Regions from separate parts of the Homo sapiens genome. Here regions 1, 3, 4, 5 and 6 are each linked to region 2. The links are contacts of gene promoters, found by promoter capture Hi-C in blood cells and fetal thymus (Javierre and others, 2016). All regions are on one chromosome and are shown on one strand. Each heading gives the region's core, a stretch centred on a gene start or on the middle of the fragment in contact. The rest is flanking DNA. Distances are from core to core; before and after follow the strand shown. Region 1 overlaps ULK4 (unc-51 like kinase 4). Region 2 holds the start of ZNF619 (zinc finger protein 619). Region 3 overlaps TRAK1 (trafficking kinesin protein 1). Region 4 overlaps TRAK1 (trafficking kinesin protein 1). Region 5 overlaps ULK4 (unc-51 like kinase 4). Region 6 has its middle 53 kb from the start of ULK4.

Evidence for each region. Contacts are between HindIII fragments. The CHiCAGO score rates a contact against its expected background, and 5 or more counts as called.
Region 1: a fragment that was not itself captured here is called in contact with the fragment with the promoter of ZNF619 in region 2 in 1 of 17 cell types (activated CD4 T cells); the score reaches 6.8 in activated CD4 T cells.
Region 3: a fragment that was not itself captured here is called in contact with the fragment with the promoter of ZNF619 in region 2 in 1 of 17 cell types (total CD8 T cells); the score reaches 5.3 in total CD8 T cells.
Region 4: a contact is called between a fragment that was not itself captured here and the fragment with the promoter of ZNF619 in region 2, in 1 of 17 cell types (total B cells). The highest score is 6.0, in total B cells.
Region 5: a fragment that was not itself captured here is called in contact with the fragment with the promoter of ZNF619 in region 2 in 4 of 17 cell types (M2 macrophages, M0 macrophages, total B cells and 1 more); the score reaches 8.6 in M2 macrophages.
Region 6: a contact is called between a fragment that was not itself captured here and the fragment with the promoter of ZNF619 in region 2, in 1 of 17 cell types (monocytes). The highest score is 5.5, in monocytes.

The regions. Positions count from the first base shown.
Region 1 is chr3:41,950,524-41,953,271 of GRCh38, reverse strand. All of the region lies in intron 2 of ULK4 (unc-51 like kinase 4), which reads left to right. Among named protein-coding and RNA genes, the nearest start is that of ULK4, 10 kb to the left of the region's middle. The HindIII fragment of the contact is 675 bases long and covers 1,156-1,830 here.
Region 2 is chr3:40,475,684-40,478,383 of GRCh38, reverse strand. It overlaps ZNF619 (zinc finger protein 619), which reads right to left and starts at 1,262. Exons shown (of 5, transcript NM_001145093.4): 1 at 1,027-1,262; 2 at 381-466. The coding sequence starts at 404. RefSeq lists an enhancer at 949-1,088. The HindIII fragment of the contact is 7,181 bases long and covers 1-2,700 here.
Region 3 is chr3:42,192,530-42,195,229 of GRCh38, reverse strand. TRAK1 (trafficking kinesin protein 1) reads right to left here. Exons shown (of 16, transcript NM_001042646.3): 8 at 2,025-2,155; 9 at 1,332-1,406; 10 at 289-426. Among named protein-coding and RNA genes, the nearest start is that of CCK, 72 kb to the left of the region's middle. RefSeq lists an enhancer at 208-367. The HindIII fragment of the contact is 1,277 bases long and covers 619-1,895 here.
Region 4 is chr3:42,148,986-42,151,685 of GRCh38, reverse strand. All of the region lies in intron 2 of TRAK1 (trafficking kinesin protein 1), which reads right to left. Among named protein-coding and RNA genes, the nearest start is that of TRAK1, 59 kb to the right of the region's middle. RefSeq lists an enhancer at 1-66. The HindIII fragment of the contact is 2,941 bases long and covers 1-2,700 here.
Region 5 is chr3:41,878,365-41,881,064 of GRCh38, reverse strand. All of the region lies in intron 17 of ULK4 (unc-51 like kinase 4), which reads left to right. Among named protein-coding and RNA genes, the nearest start is that of ULK4, 82 kb to the left of the region's middle. The HindIII fragment of the contact is 1,280 bases long and covers 770-2,049 here.
Region 6 is chr3:42,013,882-42,016,581 of GRCh38, reverse strand. It overlaps a transcript of TRAK1 not described here. Among named protein-coding and RNA genes, the nearest start is that of ULK4, 53 kb to the right of the region's middle. RefSeq lists enhancers at 1,246-1,747, 2,141-2,280 and silencers at 2,471-2,540, 2,601-2,700. The HindIII fragment of the contact is 945 bases long and covers 928-1,872 here.

The DNA.
Region 1 (2,748 bases), core at 244-2,743, 1.5 Mb before region 2:
ATATGTGTATATATATGTATGTGTATATATATGTGTGTGTATATATATGTATATAGTAGTAAAATACAATTTAACAAATTTGCACCTTAGTGATTTTTAATTGTACAGTTTAGGGATAATAAGTACATTCATATTGCTGTGCAGCTATCACCTCCATCTATCCCCATAACTGTTTTCATCTTGTAAAACTGAAGCTCTGTACCCATTAAACTGTAATTCTTCATTTCTCCTTCTCCAGCTTTTGGCAACTATCATTCTACTTTTTGTCTCTGTGGTTTTGACTACTCTATATAAATGGTATCATACAGCATTTTTTGTCTGGCTTATTTCACCCAGTGTAATGTCCTCAAGGTTTATCCACGTTGTAGCATGTGTTAGAATTTCCTCCTTTTTAAGACTGAATCATATTTCATTGTACATATATAAAGCGCATTTTGCTTATTTATGTAACAGTGGACACAAGTTGCTTCCGTGTTTTAACTATTGTGAACAATGGTGCTATGAATATGTGGATACAAATATCTCTTTGAGATCTTGCTTTATTTTGTGTATATACTCAGAAGTGGAATTGCTGGTCCTATGGTAATTCTATTTTTAATTATTTTAAGACTTGCCATACTGTTTTCCTCAGCAGCTCTGCCATCTTCTCATTCCAGACCATCAGTGCACAAGGGTTCGGTTTCTCTGCATCCTTATCAGTACTTTTTGTCTTTTTTTTTGACAGTAACCATCCTAATGGGTGTGAGGTGGTATCTCATTGTTGTTTTGATTTGCATTTCCCTAATGACTAGTGATGCTGAGCAGCATCTTTTCATATGCTTATAGACAATTTGTATATCTCCTTTGGAGAAATGTCTATTCTTTTTGTCCATTTCTGTAAGTCCTCTGCCCATTCTCTAATCTGGTTGGTTGTTTTCTTGCTGAGTTTTACGACTTCTCTATATATTCTAGATATTAATCTGTTATCAGATATATGATATGCAAATATATTTTCATATTCTATAGGTTGCCTTTTCACTTTGTTGATAGTGCCTTTTGATGTACTAAAGTTTAAAATTTTTGCAGAGTCACATTTGTCTTTTTTTTTGTTATCTGTGTCTTTGGTGTCTTACGCAAATATCCAAAAATCATTGCCAAGCCCAGTGTCATGAAGCTTTTGTCCTATTTGTTCTTCTGATAGTTATGTATTTTTACCTCAGTGATATTTGACTCATTTTGAGTTAAATTTTCTATGTGGTGTTCCGTAAATGTCTCTGTTTGGGCTGCTAAGACAAAATACCTTAGACTGGATAGCTTATAAATAACAGAAATTTATTGGTCACAGTTCTTGGGGCTGGGAAGTCCAGGATTAAGGTGCCAGCAGTTTTGGTGTCTTGTAAGGGCTTGCTCTGTTTCTCAAAGATGGTGCCTTTTATGTGTTCCCACATGGCAGAAGAGGAAAACAGGCCCCCTTATGGCTGTATTCTAAGGACACTAATTTTATTTATGAGGGCAGAGCCCTGATGACCTAATCGCCTCCTAAAGGTTCCACCTCCTAATACCACCACAGTGGACATTAGGTTTCAATGTGAATTTTAGAGGGACACATTCAGACCACAACAGTAAAGGTCCAACTTCTCTCTTTTACATGTGGATATCCAGTTTTCTCAGCACCATTTGTTGAAAAGACTGCCCTTTCCTCATTGAATAGTTTTGGAATACTTATTGGAAGTCATTTGACCATATGTGTGAGGGTTTATTTCTGGGCTCCTTATTCTATACTGTTGGTCTATATTTCCATCTTTATGCCAGTACTATACTGTTTTTATTATTGTAGCTTTGTAGTAAGCTTTGGAATCAGGAAGTGTGTGTTTTCCAGCTTTTTTTTTTTTTTCTTTTAAGATTGTTTTGGCCGTTTGACATACCTTGAGATTCTATATGAATTTTCGGATAGATTTTTCTAGTCCCACAAAAATAGTTGTTGGGATTTTGATAAGAATTGCATTGAATGCATACATTGCTTTGGATAGATTGATTTTGGGTAGTATTTGAATGTTAATTATTAATATCTGAAAATTGCCTTCTAATTCATAAACACGTGATATTTTCCCACTTATTTGTGTCTTTTTTTTTTTTTTTTTTTTTTTTGAGACGAAGCCTCGCTCTGTCCTCCAGGCTGGAGTGCAGTGACACAATCTCGGCTTACTGTAAGCTCCGCCTCCCGGGGTTCACGCCATTCTCCTGCCTCAGCCTCTTGAGTAGCTGGGACTACAGGCGCCCGCCACCATGCCCAGCTAATTTTTTGTATTTTTAGTAGAGATGAGGTTTCACCGTGTTAGCCAGGATGGTCTCCATCTCCTGACCTCGTGATCTGCCCGCTTCGGCCTCCCAAAGTGCTGGGATTACAGGTGTGAGCCACCGTGCCCAGCCTATTTATGTCTTTTAAAAATTTCTTTCAGAAGTTTTTTGTAGTTTTTGTTGTGTAAGTCTTTCCACCTGTTTGGTTAATTCCTATGTGTTTTATTCTTTTTGCTGCTATTATAAATGAAGTTGTTTTCTTGATTTCCTTTTTCGATTGTACATTTGTTAATGTATAGAAATTCCCCCTGGACATTGTGGCTCACACCTGTAATCCCAGCACTTGGAGAGACCGAGGCAGGCGAATTGCTTGAGCTCAGGAGTTTGAGACCAGCCTGGGCAACATGGTGAAAATGTGTCCCTGCAAAAGATACAAAAATTAGCTGGGAGTGGGCCAGGCGCGGTGGCTCA
Region 2 (2,700 bases), core at 13-2,512:
TCAAATTTTAATCTGCCCTTTAATTTTCCAGATCTTGTAAAAATGTAGATTCTGATTTAGGAGATCTGGGGAGGGGGCCTGACATTTTGCCTAACAAGAGCCCTCTGTAATGCAAAAGCTGCTCATCTCCAGGCCACACTTTCAGTTCTCATGAATGCAGATTCCCACTTTCTAGGATAATTCATTCCTTCTTTTCCAACCTACCTGACTCTCCCAAATTCACCTACTCTCGTTCGTCAACTCCCCTCGCATACTGTTTTTACATACTTTATTGAAGGATGTAAAACTAAGCATGAGACTGGCCAAGTCAGGCTACTGGGGCTGTACTGACCTTCCATATCTGTTCTGAGTATGGAAAGCTGAAAGAAAGCTCTGCTCACCTGGAACCACACTGTCTGGAGCATGGCTGATGACCCCTGGCTTCATGCACTGCCCTCTAGGTTTGAAAAAGTAAGAACCTGCGGAGCTAAGAGAGAACCACAATGAGACTGATCTGTCTCGTCTCCTACACTTGCCGCCTCTTCCCCTCTGTCTCCTGCCACTAGCATTGCAGATATTCTTGGCACACTAGCTGCTGTCATTCACCCTCTCCACTGATTCATGGGATGTTGCAAATGCTCCCTCTGCATATTCTCCTATAGATCTGCTTGGTGACACTGGAAACTCTAGAAAGAATATCTGTAAAGTAAGAGTCAAGAACTGCAGTGGATTCGTGGCTGTTTTTTAAAAAAAATTCTTGGCCCCACTATGAATGCATTACTAAACAGTTTGTATTGAATGCTTCTAGTGTTCATGGCAAAAACCCAAAACAAGTCTCTGGAGAGAAAGTAGGATATAACGGGGACCCCTAAACAAACCACAGGCTGCAGGACAAAATATAAGTGGTGACCCAGCCCCGGGTGACAAGGGTAAGACGCTTAATGTCCCAGCGGGTGATGCTGACCGAAGACCTAACCGGGATCTGAACGCTCCACCCTGGGAAGCAGGAGACCCTATAGTCACGGCTCCCATCCTCCCCATGAATACCGCGACCCGAGGACATCAGGCCAGCTCCTCGGAGCAGGAAGGTCGAGGGCGTCTCTGAAGACTGGGGACTGGGCCCAGGCTCTGGCGGCGGCGCGGGCCCCTCGGCGACCTCTGCAAGGGCCCAAAGCCTGACCTCCAGAACAGGTAGCCGAGTCAGGGAAGCCCGGGAAACTCAACCCGAGCGCTCGCAAGGTGGCCAAGACGGAAGCATTAGCTGGCCGGCCGTCGGTCCCTACAGCCTCTCTAGGAAGCCGGGAGGCTGGCCCTTCTCTATGGTTCCCACGAAACGAAACTCCAACCCTTCGCTTCCCTTCTCCACAACCGCTCTGCGCCTGGTTTGTTTGTTTTTTAATTTTAATTTTTTCGTGTGTTTTTTGAAACGGGGGTCTCGCTATGTTGCGCAGGCTGTTCTCGAACTCCTGAGCTCAAGCTGTCCGCCCGCCTCGGCCTCCCAAAGTGCTGGGAATACAGGCGTGAGCCACCGCGCCCGGCCGCTCCTGTTTTTCTTTATTATTTTCTCTTATGTCTTAGTACCCCAACTACATGATAAATTCCTCCATATTTAACAATTTGTAACTTAATTAACTGAATTCCTAATTCCTTACCTAATTACTTAATTCCTAACTTAACCTTCTAATGAATTTATAGCCCCTGTCTCCCACTGAATGACTGTGACCTAAGACCATGGGGTATGGTGTCTCATTGTCTGCGTTCCTGGCTCCACTCTATATGGACTTGCTCAAGTTATACTTAAATCGTTGCCTCAATTTATCAGTTGAGAATGGTAAAAGTTTGTAATTTATAAATTCAGTGAATTAACTGAGTCAATTCATGCAACAGTTTTGTAAACCAAAAATAAAATTCTAAGTCCCCCAACCAACTGAATGGACCACTTCTCTCAGCCAAAACATTCCAAAGAAAACCTGGCAATCTAGTTCAGGCCATGATGGGAAGCAGGGGATCGGACTTGCCTCGTTATGCCCTTGGAATTCAGGCACTACGGACCAGCATTAACATTAAAACAGAGATCTTGAGACTGACTAAAACTTTTTTTTTTTTTTTCCGAGATGGAGTCTTACTCTGTAGCCCAGGCTGGAGTACAGTTTCCCGATCTCGGCTCACTGCAACCTCCGCCTCCCGGGTTCAAGCAATTCTCCTGCCTCAGCCTCCTGAGTAGCTGGGATTACAGGAACGTGCCAACACGCCCGGCTAATTTTTGTATTCTTAGTAGAGACGGGATTTCACCATGTTGACCAGGCTGGTCTTGAACTAGACCTCGTGATCGCCCGCCTCGGCCTCCCAAAGTGCTGGGATTACAGGCGTGAGCCACCACGCCCAGCCCAAAACAAACTCTTTATAGCAATAAGACATCAAATTCTAACCTGACTCTAGTATAGTCTCATGTGACAGATAACAGGCCCTGAAATAAACTGAAGTATTTTACCCTAAAATGTATTTCTTTGACATATTTTGAAATGACCCTGTAAAGCTGTCTTTTGTGAAGAAAATCTACATCCTGTAAAGAATCCCCTTCACTTTCAAAGTGTTTTCCTTGATCCAGTAGAGAATTAACTAAGAGTTTGGCACCTTTTGAAGTCTGGTAAGAAACATTTACAATCGTTTCTCTCTGAAGCCTGCTACCTGGAGGTTTCATCTGCATAATAAGAACATTGG
Region 3 (2,700 bases), core at 8-2,507, 1.7 Mb before region 2:
CTTCCAAATACCTCAGGTTCCCACTAAAGCAAGTTCCTACTAAATTTATCTTTTAATGGCAGGAGTAGAAAAGACCACAGATTTAGAGGAACAGAAAATAACCAATTTGTCTTATGTAGTTAAGAAACCACCAGTCAGATTCAAGTGTCCTTGATTCAGACTCAGATCTGAACTGTACAACGAGAAGCGAACTGTGAACACCCAACTCCAGTGGCCAGAATGTCAGACACTGTGCTCCTGTCACCAGAACCCCTCCTGTCCTCTGGCTGGGAAGAAAGCACAGCTCACCATGGGAAACAGGCCCAGTGAGTGGTAGCGCCGAGACGTGGTATTGGGCATGGTTTTGTTCCGGAGGTTCTTCAGCTCCTCCTGCGCCTCATGCAGCATCTCCATGCACTCTGCGTACTTGTCCTCCAGCTCACGCAGCTGCAGGCAGGAAAGACACAGAGGGTCAGGATCTCCTGAGCACCCAGGTGTACACACATCTGCCCATCCGAAGGCCAGAAAGACACAGCAATCTAAGAGTCCCCAGCACGTGTGGAACCAGCTGCCCTGTGCGCCTGTGGCCAAATAACAGAATTTTCAAAGGCTTGCTTTTTCTTTGACTTGAGGCAAGCTTACAGACTCAGAAATCTTCTAAAATACCAACAATGGGCAAATGAAACAAAACCAACTTCATGCAAAAGAAAAATCAGGCTAGGAATGATGGCTTACAGCTGTAATCTCAGCACTTTGGGAGGGCAAGGCAGGCAGTTTGCTTGGGCACAGAAGCTGAGACCAGCCTGGGCGACATGGGAAAACCTCATCTTTCAAAAAAAAAAAAGCAAAAATTAGGTGGGTGTGGTAGCCCACACCTGTAGTCCCAGATACTCAGGAGGATCACCTGAGCCTGGAGAGGTCGAGGCTGCGGTGAGCCATGCTCATGCCACTGTACTCCAGCCTGGGTGACAGAATGAGACCCCATCTCAAAAAGAGAAAAAGAGAGAAAGAAAAAGAAAATCGTCACACCCATGTTTCAAGCCACACCTGTGAGATTCCTCTCCCAGAGTGCTCTGTGTTGTATTGTTTCATTTCTTTGAACATTTTTTGGACACCTGCACGTGCCAGGCTCAGCTGGTGTAGAGCCCTGCCACACAGGTGCCCATAACCAGTAACAGTGTCAGTGGGCACAGAACCAAGGTGCAACTGGGTTTACTCTCCCACGAATAAAAATGAAATGAAATTCAAAATAAAAACAGTAGTTGCGATGGACGTGACTAAAGCTGTCCGGGAAGGCTAATCCACCTTGGCTGCAATCAGAGGCACTGAAGGAATGAGGGAGAGGTGCTCACCTCGGCTGTGAGCTGCCGCTGGGCATCCTTAGCAGCCCCCAGATGCTGGACAAGTTCTTCATTTTCCACTGCGCACTAAAGCATGGCAAAGATAGATCACTTCCTAAGATACTTGGTAAAAGTCCAACTTTTTCCCTCTTATTAACCTAATCTGTAATGAACTCATCACTTTCTACAAGGACATGCTCATCTTATACTCAAATTCTGCTTTTTATATTATTTTGAAGGTAAAGTCTTTCCTATATCCACATTCATTCTCTATAGCCCACCGCCCCACCCCCATCTTCCAAAGCTCTCTGGAAGCATTTTACCCCACACTAATAGCAAAGTCCATTTTGCTGCCTCTTCTTAAATCTGAAGAGGATACTGCTCTACTGCAGCACATATCTAGTGCACTGTGTAAAAACAAATACTAGACTAGATGATCCATAAGTTAAACTGCAAAAGTCCATATTTACAACATCTTTTTAATGAATTCAATATAATTTTAGGAGATAAGAGGTCACAAATAAGACTCGTCACCAATTCAGGTAATCAGTTTTATACTACTGAGTCCACTAAGCTTTTTCTGCAAAGCGGCAACACGAACTGCTAAGATATGAAACTAAAGAGCACTGTCTTCTGGAGTAAATGTCCCTTCCCCGTCTCAGCATGGCCATTGTTGTATCAGCCAGATAAACAGAGAAGCCTTACAGCTTTTGCCTTTTTCTGCAAATCAACTATTTGCGATAGCAGGTGTGTGATCTCCTCTTGCTGGCGGGCAGCATCTTCCGTCTTCTTGGCCAGTTCCTCTGAGATACTAGCAATCTGGACATTGGCATCCCCTTTGACAAAGAAGCAACAATCAGGAGAGGAAGTCAGAAAACCACACATGCAGACCCAGAGAGAATGGTTTCTTTGTGGTTTGCACAAGAAAAACCATCCTTACTAAAAGACAGGGTAGAGTGGGGAGGGTGCAGGAAGGAACTCATAATGACCATTTTCCCACATGGAGAAGCAAAGCAGCTTCTTCAGGGCTCAATCAGTTATGAAAAAGAATCTCACCCCATTAGATAGCACTCCTGAGCTCAGTGTAGGGTCCCAAGCCCACCAACCAAGGCTGTCTCCCCAGAACAAATCAGGAAGGCTCCAGTGGTCAGATAGAAAGTGACAAACAAAACATGAGTGCATCTAGCCACATCCTCACATTCCACACAAGAGAACCCATGTGACTAAACAGGAATCCCCTGCTGCACCCAGTTCTAAAAAGGAACTACTGACTGCACAGTGCAATTTCCTTGGAGTTTTCAACCCATATTCAGAGTCATAACTCACTTGACTAGATTTGAACATGAGGTGTGTTTCATCATTATTTTGCTGAAATGCAAAA
Region 4 (2,700 bases), core at 26-2,525, 1.7 Mb before region 2:
ATTGGCACATAATTGAAATCTCCTTTTTGTACGTTTCCTAAACCAGTTTATTTCTGGACTTCTGTTCCTTTATTCCCTACTTTGCTACCTCTTTAAATGGGAGTATGAAAATACCAGTGGTCCCAGTAAATTCTGTCTCAAAAACCTTCTTCCCTTCATCCAAAATGGGATAGATGATAAAGGACAAGTATTTTGCTCAACATACATTCAGACAATAACAATAATTCAGAAATAAATAAATCAATATATTTACCCTTGAACAGTTGAGCCATCTCCTCTTCTATTTTCCTTTGCTCTTAGAGGAAGACAGATCAGGGTCTCTCAGGGCCAAAAGACTCAACTGAGGAAGTGCTGGGTAAGAAAATCCTTCTGATGGATACCCAGATAAGAGCAGGCCTCCGCTCACCCTCCAGATTGACCATGGCAAGCGACTGGCTTTATTTCAGGGTGTAAAGGGAACTGGATGGTGTGGCATTTGGGTCATGGTATTAGGAAACCTTCTTCCTCCACTTCTAGGATGGCATCCACAGAGCTATGGCCCCACCTGACTAATCCACGGGGCCTCTGACAGCACCCTGCTGTAACCAGTGCTCCCTAATCCAATGGTACAGTGAGGATGTATTCAATCCCTTACTTTAAAAAGTTATAGAGGGTTCAATGAGTCACAAATCACCAAGGAAACTAGAAGGAGGTCAATGATGGTTTCCAAAAAGGAGCATCTCTAGAATTTCCTTTTGGAGTTAGGTAACAGAATGGGAACTTGCTTTTAGAATGAATATATTCCAAAGAAAAAATTCACTCATCTTTTCCCCTCATGACCCTGGGAACTGCCTCCAATCCTTGTTACTCAAAATAGTTAAAGATGTACACAGAACGAACATGACAATGTCTGCATCTAAAGCTGGGGGCCAGTGAGATTGAACTGGCATAGTTTTTCCACACATTTAAATACCATCCCCTGAGAAAGCCTTAACCCACAGTCGCGGCAAAAATCAGTGGATAAGAGATAATTATGTAGTTTTTCAGTTTACTAACTAGGCCAGGTCCCAGCCTGTTACATCATTCAGGTTAATCAAATGTAGTCAGGAATAGAGCATTCTGAAACTCCCGACTCAATTAAAAAGCACTTACCTTATCTATTAATGGCTCATATAGGGCTGGGAACATATCATCACTGGGGAACAGACCCTCAAAGTGTATATATTAATTGGGCCCCTTTTTTGTGAAGGCATGTGATATGAGGGTCACTTTCAAGACAAAATTAAAGACAGATTAACTGTGTAATACACAATTTTGATGTCCAACACCCCAGGAACCTGAGACCCCGCCCACTGTGATGTCTCTGAGAACGCACCTCAGTGCTGTTTTCTGTGTGCTTGAAACCTCCTGAGACCTGTCCAGCCACACAACTTGGCCTCCACCCAGTCTCCCTTGGAATGTGCCACACCCTCCCTGCACAAACCAAGGTAGTGACAGAAGGACACATTCTTTCCCTGCCCCTCCCATCACCTCCCCACCCCCATCTCTGTTGGATCCAACAAGCAAACTTCATTTGAATCACCCGCTAAGTGGTAAGCTGCTTCTGCCTTTTCTCCAGCCTCTGATGGTTCCCAGGTCTGGGCTCAGAAAAGGGCAGAGTCTTCCAGGCCTGCTGCTGACAGTCCAGGAAGCCACCTCCTGAACACACTATTCCAAGCCCCCAGTTTCCTATCCCCTCCAACAGCAAGAGCGCAGTGAACACATTTCCACTTGCACACATTCATGCATCAACAACACACTCACGTCTCACACCAGAGAAAATTCAATCCAATAGAAGTATAACACTTACAAGCCCAGCACACCAAAAACCATCTCCCCTTCTAAGCAAACAATCATACATACTGCAGGAGTCTTTCACGGTAAAGAGCCCTGCCCACCTGCCACCTCCTCCACCATGCCTTTGGAATTGCCAGAGCCAGTGGTGCTAGTTCTGGTACCTCCCACCCGCCAGCCGCCTGTCTCCCCTAAAGGTTTCAGGACACCCCCCACCCAGAAGGAGACAATACCCCTATACATCCCGGCTCTGTTTTGCAGGGGCCATAATTACCATCCGAGCATTCTTCATAATACCAGTCTAGTTCATAATAATCCGCTTCGATAAATTTCTGCATAGTCAGTAGTCTTGCAGAGGAAAGAATGGACTTCACAGCACCATCAACGTCAAGTAAAACGCTGCCATGCCTCCCCGCCCTTCCAGAATACTGGACAGAAGAATATCCCGAAACACACCAGAATTAGGCTGTACATTCTTAACGACAGTCTGGAGCCAAAACAGTAAAGTGGGCAATGAAAAGAAAAATTCTATGGGGGAAGGAGGGAGTAGGAGGAGCAGAAAGGAAGGCAATTTGCAGAGAGCTAACGGAGACCCTGGCAGCACTGCCAATAAAGCAGCACTGGACAGCAGCCCTGAATGGGAGTAGCCAGGATCGTCCTATCCAGACGCCTAGAGGGTGACGTCAGAGACACACACCACCACTGGCTGTCTCACTCAAGCCTCGTCTCCTGCTCGCCGCTCATCTTTCAATCTAACCGTTGCCATAGAAACTGGCCGGCTCTGAAAAATGATGCAGAGATGGAGGAAATGTCTTCCAAGGATGCTGGCAGCAGAGGCTGAGAGATGCCAGGCAGGGAAAAGAAAGGGTACAGGCAAGGGAGAGACAG
Region 5 (2,700 bases), core at 160-2,659, 1.4 Mb before region 2:
TTTTTCAATAATCAGTAACAAAATTTCAAGTGTAAGATGAATCCTAAATTCTCTATTAGGTTTACTCTCAGTGAACAGGAAAAATTGTGGTTGCAGACCCTATAAGCATCTTATTTTATTTTACTTACTTATTTATTTTTTTGCGATAGAGTCTCGCTCTGTTGCCCAGGCTGTAGTGCAGTGGTGTGATCTTGGCTCGTTGTAACCTCTGCCTCCCGGGTTGAAGAGATTCTCAGCCTCAGCTTCACGAGTAGCTTGGACCACAGGTTCATGCCACCATGCTCTGCTAAGTTTTGTATTTTTAGTAGAGACACGGTTTCATCATGTTGGTCAGGCTGGTCTTGAACTCCTGGCCTCAAGTGATCCATTTGTCTTGGCTTCCCCAAAGTATTGGGATTACAGGCATGAGACACTGCACCTGGCCCCTATAAGCATTTTAATGGCATAGAACCTCATTTTGTTACTCACCTTTGTACCCCACAGTGCCGAGCCAGCAAAGTAATGTGTATTTTAGGCAGTTAATGCTGGAGAGTTTAATGAATGATTAAAAGAATGTCAGAAGAATATGATGGTATAATTTGTTATAAAGAGACAGAAAAAATGGAGCAAAAATCTATTTTACTATCCTTGTAATATAATTTAAATCTCTTTCATCTTATTCTGTCATCAACAGCTACAGAAAATAACTGGTCATGATCTCCTTTATGCATTTAGAAGCATTTATTGACATCTGTATCTTTTTTACTGAAAAATATAACCATCTGAAGCTTATATTCCTAGATAACACATTTACCACTCTGTAATCATTGTGGTTTCTATGTGTAATAATTTTAAAAAACATTTCTGATATTAAGCCAATATATTTAGTCTGAAGCGTGCAGTGGATATATTTTATGAAATTTAATATAGACCCATCAAATTCTAAAACTGAAAGGAATTTTTTTTGTGACTGAGTCTCACTCTGTTGCCCAGGCTGGATTGCAGTGGCGTGATCTTGGCTCACTGCAACCTCTGTCACCCAGGTTCAAACGATTCTCCTGCCTCAGCCTCCCGAGTAGCTGGGATTACAGGCATGCACTACCACGCCCAGCTAATTTATTTTGTATTTTTAGTAGAGATGGGGTTTCACCATGTTGGCCAGGCTGATCACGAACTCTTGACCTCAAATAATCCATCCGCCTCAGCCTCCCAAAGTGCTGGGATTACAGGCATGAGCCACCACTCCTGGCCAAAAGGAGTATTAACAGACATTTTAGGTTAACCCATTCATTAAATTTCTTTATTATCAGCTGGGCGTGGTGACTCACGGCTGTAATCCCAGTACTTTGGGAGGCTGAGGTGGGAGGATAACTTGAGCCTAGGAGTTTGAGACCAGCCTGGGCAACATAAGGAGACCCTGTCTCTAGAAAAAATAGAGTTTGGTGTGGTGGTGCACGTCTGTGGTCCCAGCTACTCAGGAGGCTGAGACATGACCCTGGGAGGTTGAGGCTGTAGTGGGCTATTATCATGCTATTGCACTCCAGCTTGGGCAACAGAGCAAGACCCTGTCTCAAATTTTTTTTTTTTAAATTATGGAAAATTTCAACATATATAGAAGTAGAGAGGCTAGAGTAATGAGGTAGTATCATTTGCTTCCAGCAATCAACACTGGCTAATCTTGTTTCATCTTGTGTCCTGCTTTCATTCCCCCTCTCCCTTTTTCTCTCCCTCTCTCTTTCTTGCTGGAGTATTTTAAATAAAATGATATCATTTTACTAGTAAATATCTTTTGCTAGCAGAAAAGGATTAGAAAAATGTATAACCATGATTTCATTATCACACCCAATACATTCAGCAGTAGTCTCTGAATATCATCTAATACCCAGTTAGTGTTCAGATTTTCTTGGTGGTTTCATACATGTCATTTTGTAATTTTTCTTTGAGCCAGGATTGCGTTTAGATATTGTGACCCTTAAGTCTCTTAATTCCTGGTCTCTTATTTTTTAGTGTCATTTATTTGTTACAGACAAATTGTCCCTTGTCTTGGCCCAAATTGGAATACCAGAAGCTTTACTGCACCCTTTTGGTGTTATTTAATATAGTCCTTTATCACCTGCCTTTCCTTTCTTGCGCATGGCTGCTTAGATGTGGACCCTTGATTCAGTACTTTTTTTTGGGGGGATGGCTTGGGGAAATAGGAATTTGTCACAGTTGGTGCTGTATTTCTCCTACTGCTTCATAGGAAGTGAGACAATTAAACATTATATGCCTCTATTAGAGGGGTTAAAGTTGATCACTAGACTCAGATGTTGTCAGCCTTATTATAAATATTCCCATCACTCTTTTTTTTTCTTCATACCCTTATCTGTGAGTCAGGAACTCCTCACTCTTTTTTTTTTTTTTTTTTTTTAACAGTTTTAACATCAATCGATTATTGTCTACATGTAGTAATCCTTTAGAGTTGCAAAATGATAATTTTCTTATTCTGTAATTTCCTTTCTATTTGTAGTTGGAAGTTTTCTTACAGAAGATCTTTCCCTGATCAACTATTTGGTTATCCTTAAAATAGAGTTTGTTTTGCAAGGCAGGATAAATGCTTGATTGTTCCTCTTCATAGGTCAGTTTTCAGAATAAAGAGTTGGTACCTGAGAAATCTCCGTGTCTAGTGAGATTGATTTTATATTGTTAAGAACTTACAGGTGTATATATGTATATGTATAT
Region 6 (2,700 bases), core at 151-2,650, 1.5 Mb before region 2:
ATTCAAGAATCACCAAACAATTACAGAGGCCTACTATATACAAGGTCAGAGGCAGGGACTCAGAATGCAACGACAGGGACTGGGAGTGGTGGCTTGCGCCTATAATCCCAGCACTTTGGGAGGTCATGGCCAGCAGATCACTCGAGGTCAAGAGTTTGAGACCAGCCTGGCCAAAGTGGTGAAACCCCGTCTCTACTAAAAATACAAAAATTAGCTGGGCGTGGTGGCAGGTGCCTGCAATCCCAGCTACTCGGGAGGCTGAGGCCAAAGAATCACTTGAACCTGTGAGGTGGAGGCCGCAGTGAGCCAAGATCGCACCACTGCACTCTAGCCTCGATGACAGAGCGACACTCTGACTCAAAAAGAAAAAAAAAAACAAAAAACCAGAATGCAATGACAGGAACAAAGTCCACTTAAGATGGCAAACCTTAAGGTGTTGTTAGTTTGGAAAGTGAAAGTTTAAGAACTCCATTCAATGTGAATAGTGCTCTATTATTTTTGAAAGCCCTTTTATTTTTATGTTTTTTGTTTTTGTTTTTGTTTTTGAGATGGGGTCTTGCTCTGTCGCCCTGGCTGAAGTGCAGTGGCGGGATCTTGGCTCAATGAAACCTCTGCCTCCCGGATTCAAGCTATTCTCCTGACTCACCCTCCTTAGTAGCTGGGATTACAGGTGCCCATCATCATGCCCAGCTAATTTTTGTATTTTTAGTAGAGACGGGGTTTCACCATGTTGGCCAGGCTGGTCTCGAACTCCTGACCTTAAGTGATCCACCTGCCTCAGCCTCCCAAAATGCTGGGAATACACGCACAAGTCACCATGCCCGGCCCAAAGCTCTTTTATATTACCTGATTTGACCCTCATAATAAACCTATAAAACAATAATTACTATTATATGCTTTATTATCCCTGTTGGGGCTCAAAAAGCTTACCAAATTACAAACCCAATCATGTTGGAAGGAGACCTGAAAACGCTCCCATGTCATTCAGTCAAACTTTTACAGACACCTCCATTTAAAACATTGTCTCCCAGAGAGGGGAGAGCAGGACAGAGAGGTTAAGTAAGGTCACACAGCCAATAGAGAGGAGTTGGAATTTCAGTCCAGGTTTCCCACTCCAAGACCACAGAGAAGGAGAAGCAACACAGCCAGAGTGGAGACACCCTCAAGCGAGCGCTGGGGATGGGAAACTGGTCCCTGGGGCATCAAACAGGAAACGGCTGGTGCTGGGGCCAAGCTGAAACCCAACTGTTGCCAAACTCGCAGCCCTGAGACAAGGGCTTTAAACCGATTCAGCATCCCCCAGAGCCGGGCTCAGCTTTCCAGCTGGCTTAGGCTACACTGGGCTGGGAACCTCTGTGACAAAGCTGAGGTCCAAGATCAAAGAGCAACCGAGTATGACCATTCCAAACCGAGAGACAGAGGGGAAGGCGCCATCTGTCACTCCAGGTCCAACTCTCCAAACCTACCAGTCAAGCTCCCAGCCTGTTGTCCCTTCACTCAATCTGGGGAGACCCTCCCCAGTGCAGACTGGCTCCAGGGCTAATCAGAGCTTAGTCTGAGCACCTTCCTCTTCGCTGCTCTTGTAGTTGGAAATTGGAAAGGACCCTGGAACTAGACCGTTTCCCTATGGTAACCTCCACTCTCCTTCCAGATAAACAAAAGACCCTCCAGAAAAGGTTACCAGTCCCGAATACACACTCACAGACAGTATTGACAACGTTTACACTTTTGAAGCAAATAAAGTTCCAGTGAAGCATATCAGAAAAAAAAAAAAATCAGCGGTCCAACGACGAATACTCTGAAGGCTCTCAAAGCGGACGCTAATTTCAGTGTCTGAACAAGTGCAGCCACGGGTTCTAAAACAGGCAAGCTTAAAGCGGAAGGGGCACCCAGCACCAGCCTCAAGAGCAGGCCGACTTTTAACATCTTTCCTGAAACACAACTTTACAAAAGAAGAAACGATACAGTTCATTACATTTGTTTTTACCTGCAAGAGCTTGACCTTGGAGACTAGAAAAGAACTTTAAAAATCAGGTCAAGAAAGTGACAAAGTAAACTTGTTAACTCTCAAGGATGCAAAGGAGGGCTCTAAAGGCTCTCTGCTCTCTGACACGCTCAGATGATGTCATTTTCATCAAGTTTTGCGGGTGAGTGGGAATCGGGGTGCTGCCCGCGCTCAGCTCCAGGCTCTTTGAAGGTCGCCTCACTGTCACCTCGGAGTGCCGGAGCGCGGAATCCAGGCCACGCGGCGTGGCCGACACGATGCCCTAGGGGCACTTTTCCGGGCTCCGAGGGCCTCCTGCAGGTGCGGCCGGTGCATTAGGAGGGCTGTCCCCGCAGGGTCCCGGCGCCCGGCCTCTCACGCCGCCACTATCTCACGCGGACACTCCCAGAACACCCGTGTCCTTCCCCAGCCCCTGGGCCCGAGGCGCAGGCGGCGCGGGTGAGCGGACCCCTGGCTTACCCGCAAGAGGTGCACGGAGCGCAACCCGGCAGCAGGCGCGGTGCCGGGGGGCCTCGGTGGGGGCTTCCTCCGCGTCGTTCTCGGCCCGGCCCCGGCCGCCCGGCGGCTTCGGTTCCCTCCGCTGCAGCCGGCCGGGCGGCACGGGGGCACTCGCGGGGGCTCCGCTCTGGCGCCGCCGCCTCCTGCTGCCCGCCTGCCGCTCTGGCGCTCCTGGGCTCGGAGTCCGGGGTTCCGAG